Linked DNA regions of Homo sapiens: all the other regions are linked to region 3. Evidence: promoter capture Hi-C in 16 types of primary human blood cells and fetal thymus (Javierre and others, 2016). All regions are on one chromosome and are shown on one strand. Each heading gives the region's core, a stretch centred on a gene start or on the middle of the fragment in contact. The rest is flanking DNA. Distances are from core to core; before and after follow the strand shown. Region 1 overlaps KIAA0753. Region 2 holds the start of PIMREG (PICALM interacting mitotic regulator). Region 3 holds the start of C1QBP (complement C1q binding protein).

Region 1 (2,700 bases), core at 1-2,500, 1.2 Mb before region 3:
GAATGCTCTACGTCCTCCAGCAGCAGGTGTGAAAAGTTCAGGGAGAAGTAGGGCAGTCAGCCTTGTGTACTGCTTCCTTAGAGAGTTTCTGTTTTCCTTTTGTCTCAGAAAGATTAGCACTAGAGTATCCCATATGAGTTCTGACAGATTTGTGAGGCTCAATTACCTGAACACATGGGCAAATAATTCTCTTTCTTTTTGTAATCTGCGTGTGTGTGTGTGTGTGTGTGTGTGTGTGTGTGTGGCGCCAAACTCCTTAAACTGGTTCTTGACTTTATGAGGTCATAGACCTTTGAGAATCTATTAAAAGCCACTCCTCCCCACCCCCAAGATGCTTATACATTATATAGCACATATTTTTGCATGGGAAGTCAGGTGGATCAGTTACCCTGAACCCTTGGTCCTAGCTATGGACCCCAGTCTTAGAGGAAAGGGACCTTGTTAGTTTCCCATCTATTTCATGTTTATAATGTATAGAAGCTTGTAATAGTAAATAATTTGGTAAACAGCAAAGAGTAAAGACCATGTTAAGTGTCTTTGAGGACATCTTTAGTAGCGGATACACAGGCATTTACGTTCTTTACATTGTGATGGATTTTTAAAAAGTGTTTGTTGTGACTTTCATGCCTTATACATTAGTAAGCCTTTTACTCATTTCTGGTCACTGAAGTCACATGTTAGCCTTTATTGCTTGAACCAAAAGCTGTACTTTTTCATTTAAAAGAAAATGCCTGAGTTAGGTTTTGCAGTGTATTCTTTTGGGTTCTATTTCAGTTCTTATTCTACACTGCTGCCGTAGAGATTGCTCTAAAACATGAATCTTACCATGTCAGACCTCTGCTTAAAAGACTTTAGTGGCTCTCTGTAACTTAGAGGATGAAAGCTAAACTCTTCAGCGTGGCATGTAAGACTTCACGATCCGGCCCGCCTACATTTCCAGAGTCACCTCCACCTTCACTCCTTCATGCTAAATTCCTATTACACTGGGGACGAAGGGATGGAAGGTGAACACTGCCTATTCACTATCTTGAACTGGAAACCAGTAACTGTTTTTTGGGTGCATGAATGAAGAGCCTTTTTTTCATTTTCAAGTGACTTGAATTAATAATGGTTATATTTGGACAAGAGGAGATATATCGATGCATCCTTTTCTACAAAAAAGATCAATGGAAAGGTATGAAGTTTTCTTTTTTCCCCTTTACAAAACAGGTAAAAGAAATCCAGGAAGAATTGGATAAATTGAGTCCACATAAAATTAAACACACTAAGAAGGTATGCTGCAATTAAATTATGATCAATACTTGCTTATAAATGACATTTCCCAGTGTTTTGTTAGTATTGTGTAGGGCCCTCTGCACTAATGTTATTTTCAGTACTTGCAGAAACCTGTTAGTGAGGGAGTGAGCACCTTACATATTCTGAATATGGTTGCCTTCTAAGGAACAGGTTCTAAAAAATAGATTTTTGTTGTTGTTGCTGCTGGTATAAAAAATTGGAAGTAGTAAGGAAAAGACTGCCACTAGAAAACTTTAAACTTTACAACTCCCTTTACTATGAAAAAGTTTTCACAATAGAAAGCACTTTATACAGAAAGAAGACAGGCTATAAATATTCTTAGAAGTTGGGTGAATGTTAGCAAGTTCTGAGTATGGAAATAACTTCTCTCATCTTGTTTATTACCAGTCATGGGCAATGTCTAAGCTGGCGGCTGCCCATCGAGGAGCCATTCGGGCCTTACAGATGTTTGTCACTCAGTTTACTGACCGAGGGGAGCATCCACTTCCTGCTCGGTGTAAGGAACTGGGCAGCCTTATTCGCCAGCTTTCACTTTGTTCTGTCAAGCTGGATGCAGACCCTTCTGTTCCTGATGTGGTTATAGATATTCTGCAACAAATTGAGGTATGGAATTAATTCCAATTTTTGTTAGAGGTGCATTGGAAGTAATGCTTACTATTACCTAGTTTCGTTAGGATTTATGGAGAATACAAGACAAAGCCATTACCTAGTGAATTAAAGCTTTGCAGAGGGCAGAAGAAACACTTCTTTTTGTTTTGCTATTTTTACAGTGTAGTCTGTATTATCGTATTTCACTGCTTCGAAAATTGGTAACTTGAATATAAAACATGTAACAACTTTAAACCAGGTTCATTAACTAAACAGAATGTCCCATTCCCTGGCCCATGCCATTTGAGAAAAAAATTTATTAGCATAGAAAAGGAAACCAGTAAAGCATTCTTAGATTAGAATATCAGTGTTTAATTTAGATGGATTTTGGAAAAGAAGAAACACTTAAAGGTACAGTATATGGAATCAGAGCCTCAAATCTTGTGATATAGCTAGAGACGTCTAGAAATCACAGCTGGCATGTATTAGACAGGAATTGATAGTGTTCTTAGTTTTCATTGGTGACAAAGACACATTAATTTTATAGCTCTCTGAAGTTTGCATGGTGTTTCCATGTAATTATGCCATTTGACCCTTTCTATGGCAGTATGCTTTGCAATGGGTTTTACTGCTGTTGTACAGGTTAAATTTTTTTAGAAAAGCAAACATCGGAGAGATGACAGTTATTTTTCTTGAGAGCTAGGCATCAAATTCTATTTTCTGACTCCCATGCTAGTATTAGTTCCCCTACGCCATACATTTTCATCCACAAATAGAAAGGTGATCTTTATGTTAGCATGGCAGAGTAAGCTGTTA
Region 2 (2,700 bases), core at 87-2,586, 1.0 Mb before region 3:
TTCCCCTACCCTAAATACCCCTTGACCTTTGCTTCCCTGGGTGAACTCTGGAATCACCTCCTCTGGGAAGCCTTCACCGACTAAGCTTGCATTTGGTGAGCCTCACTATTGGTCACTTGCTTTGCAATTTCCTATCACGTACAGCTCTTATCACCTGGTATTGTGAGCATCTGTTTCCTCCAAGACATGCTTTCATTCACTCATTCAACTATTTGTTGAGCACCTATATGTGCCAGGAACTATCTGGGGTGGTGGGGAAACAGCAGTGAACTAACCAACGTCCCTGTTTTCATGAAGTCTATATTCTTGAGGCTCTTTGAGGGCAGGAACTGCCTGGCACCAAGGAAACACTCCATAAAAAAGATGATTAGTGTTGTCAGTATTACCTGGGACACGGCACCCAAAGCACTCTTAGCTGAGCGAGCTGCAGCCTGGAGGCCCTGCTGACCTGGCTCTGGGGTTTCCAGGCGTTTCCAGGAGGGCCCTGCGCGGAGGTTGAGGTTGACGGCTCTCAGGGGCAGCCTCCTTTGGAACTGTCTGCACAGGGACCCCAGGGCCCCTACAGAGGTCTCCTGATGGCTGACCACAGGCTGCAGCTCCTTGCTGTCCTCCAGCTGCTCCTGGTGCTGGAGAGATCTCCGGCGCACGGAGGTCCCCATGTTCTGCCACCGAGAAGCCATCTGCCTGGCCAAGAGTCTTCTCTGTCCACTAGACCCTGGGGAGGAGGGCGAAAGGCAGATCAGCAAGGCATTCCCCATACCCATTCCCAGGCCCCACAGAGACCCTGGACACAGGGGAAGAGACGGGATGCAGCGGGGTGGCGGGGGCGGGCGAGTTGGTAAGTGTGGGTGCAGGAAGGAGGATGCTTCCTGGAAGAGGGGCCTCGGGTCAGCAGCATTTCTGATGTCCCGCCCTTCAAGTTTCCAAAACAGCTGTCTTTTCATCCCAACCTCCTTCCTCTCTCTGGCTCAGGCGAGGAGGGGAGGCAGGGTCAAGACACGCCGTAGCCGAGCTTCAGCGCTGGGCCCAGGACACGATCACCATCTTCTTCACCAGCTCGCCCAGACCAAACGCGCACCCGCCCAGACCCCGGCCTTCCCACCAGACGCCCCGATTTCGATCCGACTTCTTGTGGTACCCAGACGACCCCACAGGCCGTGCGTGTCCGAACCTGATGCCCTCCCCTGTGAACAGAACCTGATGCCCTCCCCTCCGAACAAAAAAATTGTTTTGAGTCCAGATCGCGCCATTGCACTCCAGCCTGGGCAACAAGGGCGAAACTTGTGCCCAGCCCGCACTCACCCGACACCACTAAGGCCGAGCACAGCCGCAGCACAGCTGCTCCTCGCCCACCGCAGCCGATTTGAAACTCTGCGCGGCTCCGCCCCCGGCCCCGTCCTCACAGCTGATTGGTTCCGTCCCCGCCCCCGCCACCGCCACCGCCCCGGGGATCCGATTGGCTCCCTCTCTCGCGGCTGCAAATGCTGCGCTTGGATTGGCCCGGCCGTGCCCATTCATCGCTCCGGCCCCCGCCCCGCCGCCAGCCTCGTGGCTCCGGGCTTTGTATCCTGCGTCCCGCTCGCGCCACTGCCCTTGCTAGCCCAGCCCCCGCGCATCGCACACCGGGTCCCCTCCCTGGAGCGCGCACAGGGTTCAGGCTGCTCTGACCCATGGGGTGGAGGCGGAGGTCCTGGGACCTAGGCCTCCTGGCTCAGGCCCCAGGCCCCAGGCCCGGCAGCGGGCAGAGACCCCTCTCATCCTGCCAAGGGGTCTGGCTTTTCCTTCTTGCTCAGTGGTTTTGTCAGAAGGAGCCAGGGACTGGCAGTGCAGAGCCCTGGGTTCCCAGAGACGTTTTCTTTCAAATTTCCCTCCTGACCCTCCCTTCCTGTGACAAGACACTGTCCCTCTCTGAGTTCCCCATACTCGCCATCCACGCTCCGCCCTCCCTAGAAAACGCGTCCCGGAAGCGGGGATAGACCAGAGTACCGGTCTGCCCTCCACCCGTCTACACCGGCTCCCCGCCCCCGCCTTGCCCCACGCATCCCTCCCTCTCTCCAGCGGAATGCCTGCCTCTCTTCTCCTTAGCATCCAAACAAATGCAGCCATTATAAAGCTCTCTCCAGCTCATCTTTCTCCTTTCGGTGACCTCAGAGCAGTGCTGCCCACTCCCCCGGCTGGTTTCTTTGTTACTTCTCCGCACAAGAGCCTGAGATGATGGCTTCTTGAGACTCTGTCTTCAGCCCTCTCCGTTTCTGGGTGGTCTCACCCACTCCTTTGGCCTCAGTGATTTCCAAGGAAAGGATGATGATAATGATTAACGTGTATATGGCACTTAGTATGCACAGGTACCGGTGTTGCAGTTTATTAACTTACTTGATCCTCTGCTATGGTTTGAATGTGTCCCTCAAATTTCACATGTTGGAAATGTAATGCCCAAATTCATATATCGGTGGCATTTTTTGTTTGTTTTTGAGACGGAATTTCACTCTTGTTGCCCAGGCTGGAGTGCAATGGCATGATCTCGGCTCACTGCAACCTCCGCCTCCCAGGTTCAAGCGATTCTCCTGCCTCAGCCTCCCTAGTAGCTGGGATTACAGGTGCCTGCCACCACGCCTAGCTAATTTTTTGTATTTTTAGTAGAGATGGGGTTTCACTATGTTGGCCAGGCTGGTCTCGAACTCCTGACCTTAGGCAATCCAC
Region 3 (2,700 bases), core at 73-2,572:
CTTGTCCCCAGAAAAATGATGTTCCATTAGAACTTGGATGCAAGGTTGGAGGTGCAGAGAGGGAAGGTCACAAAAATTAATCATGGATCCTGCCCTTGAGGATGTCACAGTCTGGTTGGGTTTAACCTGGTTAAAGCAGCAACGCTAGGAGGTTCCTGTTGAAAAGAGAATGAAGCATATGGGCTGGGTGCGCACAAGCATGAGTTCCGAGCCGGTGGAAAAAAAGGTTCTAGAAGGCCTCTTTCAGGAAAACCCTCAGACTTTCCTTTGCTCTCACAACACAACAATCAACACAGAAGACTTATGTGGCCAAAGGTTTGGGTTTTTCCCCTCCACACTAAGCAGCAGACACCAGCTGGGTGTCCTCCAATTCAATCCCAACAGTATCTACCTGGAGATAGTGTCAGATCCCATAGGTTGAGGGCTCAGTCCCCAAGACCGCCCCCACCTTCAGACAGCAATGGCAAGTCTGGGCCTCTGAAACTTCCGACCAACCCGCTTCAAGTTGGGGTTCCCACGACCCCCCTCTTTGGATTATGTTAACTCACTGGAGCAGTTCACAGAACTCAGGGAAACACATTCACCGGTTTCATATAAAGGATATGACCAAGGATACAGATGAGATGAGCAGGGTGGGGAATGGGGAAGAAGCTCCGAGGTTCCTTGCCTACCCTGGGCCACCACCCTCCAGGAACCTCTACGTATTCAGCTGTCAGAGGCTCTGCAAACCCTCTCCTCTTGGGTTTTTATGGAAGCTTCTGGACATCAGCATCCCTTCCCCCAGGGTATATGGTGGGACCTTCTCTGGGAAGGGACTTAAGACCCATAATCAGAAATGTGGAAGGAGATTAGAGTCCTGCTTTGGGGCAGGTAAAAGGAGGGCAGGAGAAGGGGAGAGTCTGTTTCCTGAGGCCTAACACACCCAACATTATCACAGAACATTGTAACAAGGGCTATAGGAGTTACGACCCAGGAACTGTGGATGAAAACCAATACATATATATATCATAACACCACAGCCTCCTAGAGGAAAGTGACCGTGGAAGGGTCTGGTGAGAGCTGGCGGGAGACAAGAGTGCATTCCACGCAGCCCAAAAGCCTTGCGTGCTTTGAGAACAGCAGGTGGAAAGTGGGTAAGCGGCCACTAGAGGGAATTAAACAGCTTCGGACAGCGGACTCGGCAGCGCAGCAAGAAAGCTCCGGAATCCGGATTCGAGGCTTCCCGGGCTGCACCGGAGTCTCCAGCAGAGGGCGCGATTCCGCCCGCTGGCCTTAGGTCGTCAGAGCGCCGGCGCGGGAAGCGCTTCCGGGCAGGGGCGGGGCTTCCGGCGGCGCCTCAGGTCGCGGGGCGCCTAGGCCTGGGTTGTCCTTTGCATCTGCACGTGTTCGCAGTCGTTTCCGCGATGCTGCCTCTGCTGCGCTGCGTGCCCCGTGTGCTGGGCTCCTCCGTCGCCGGCCTCCGCGCTGCCGCGCCCGCCTCGCCTTTCCGGCAGCTCCTGCAGCCGGCACCCCGGCTGTGCACCCGGCCCTTCGGGCTGCTCAGCGTGCGCGCAGGTTCCGAGCGGCGGCCGGGCCTCCTGCGGCCTCGCGGACCCTGCGCCTGTGGCTGTGGCTGCGGCTCGCTGCACACCGACGGTGAGGTTTAGCGGGCCGGGGGTGTGGTTTGCGTTCAACAGAGGGAAAACGTAGACCAGGAATAGGGCCTGCAACCGACCTCTGAGGTCTGGGACATTTTTCCATTGATTGGCAACCAGCGGGCTAAACCCACGTATGATCATATTTCCCCCACCTCCCCTATCCAGCAGTTTCGTTTTCTTTTGGTAGGGGGTGAATAAAATTAAATACTAGGGTACCTTTTTCCTTAGTCTTATTCTATCGAAAGTGGACCTTTGGGAAGGCCCATGGTCGTGGTTGAAAATAGCATAGTTATATCGTTTGGCAAGTGGAAGAGGATTGGAAATTCTCCTGGTTTATAGCGGAAAGTGGTAATGCGTTCATTGTTGGAAATCACTTTTCCAGAATCAGGCTCAGCTTCCTACTACTATTATGGTATTTTTACCGATAAGGAAACAGGCTTCTAGAGTAACCGTAATAGCAGAGAGATTAGAAACAGTCCAGGTTTCTGGCTGCAATAACCTGGGTAATAGTTTTATGTTTTAGACTAACTGGCTTTCCTTTTTATGTATCTGGATTTCTTTTCTAGGAGACAAAGCTTTTGTTGATTTCCTGAGTGATGAAATTAAGGAGGAAAGAAAAATTCAGAAGCATAAAACCCTCCCTAAGATGTCTGGAGGTTGGGAGCTGGAACTGAATGGGACAGAAGCGAAATTAGTGCGGAAAGTTGCCGGGGAAAAGTAAGTACTGGTCTGGGGATCCCAGGGCAGCAACTCCCTTAACCTTGCAGGACCCATCCTGGGTCATCCCCAGAAGAGCCTTGAGTTCAGGTGTGGATACTTTGATAAATGGGTTTCAAGAGAGTGAAGGATTCATTTGGACAACTTCGTAAGCCCCAGGCAGTCCATTCACCGAACACAAATTTGCTGTGGGCTGGTTACTAAGGAGACAAAAATGTAGTGCAAAAAAGTACTGGCAGAATCAGTTTGATCTCTGATTTACAGCCCTGATAAAATAGGACACTGCTCTCTAATGTTTAGTATGGGTGAAAATGAAAAATATGTAACTTCTATGTAACAGGATGGG

What was found. The method cuts DNA at HindIII sites, captures the fragments that hold promoters and counts their contacts. A CHiCAGO score of 5 or more calls a contact.
Region 1: a contact is called between a fragment that was not itself captured here and the fragment with the promoter of C1QBP in region 3, in 1 of 17 cell types (M0 macrophages). The highest score is 5.1, in M0 macrophages.
Region 2: the fragment with the promoter of PIMREG here is called in contact with the fragment with the promoter of C1QBP in region 3 in 5 of 17 cell types (M2 macrophages, M0 macrophages, M1 macrophages and 2 more); the score reaches 9.3 in M2 macrophages.

What each region holds. Positions count from the first base shown.
Region 1 is chr17:6,622,081-6,624,780 of GRCh38, reverse strand. It overlaps KIAA0753, which reads left to right. Exons shown (of 19, transcript NM_014804.3): 4 at 1-26; 5 at 1,210-1,272; 6 at 1,684-1,899. Among named protein-coding and RNA genes, the nearest start is that of KIAA0753, 17 kb to the left of the region's middle. The HindIII fragment of the contact is 1,536 bases long and covers 483-2,018 here.
Region 2 is chr17:6,443,091-6,445,790 of GRCh38, reverse strand. It overlaps PIMREG (PICALM interacting mitotic regulator), which reads right to left and starts at 1,336. Exons shown (of 6, transcript NM_019013.3): 1 at 1,303-1,336; 2 at 387-715. The coding sequence starts at 680. All of the region lies in intron 2 of LOC107985017 (a long non-coding RNA gene), which reads left to right. RefSeq lists silencers at 1,087-1,314, 1,397-1,646, 1,877-2,026 and an enhancer at 1,378-1,956. The HindIII fragment of the contact is 3,587 bases long and covers 88-2,700 here.
Region 3 is chr17:5,437,777-5,440,476 of GRCh38, reverse strand. It overlaps C1QBP (complement C1q binding protein), which reads left to right and starts at 1,322. Exons shown (of 6, transcript NM_001212.4): 1 at 1,322-1,635; 2 at 2,204-2,354. The coding sequence starts at 1,404. RefSeq lists an enhancer at 926-1,105 and silencers at 1,165-1,347, 1,326-1,495, 1,606-1,655. The HindIII fragment of the contact is 1,457 bases long and covers 758-2,214 here.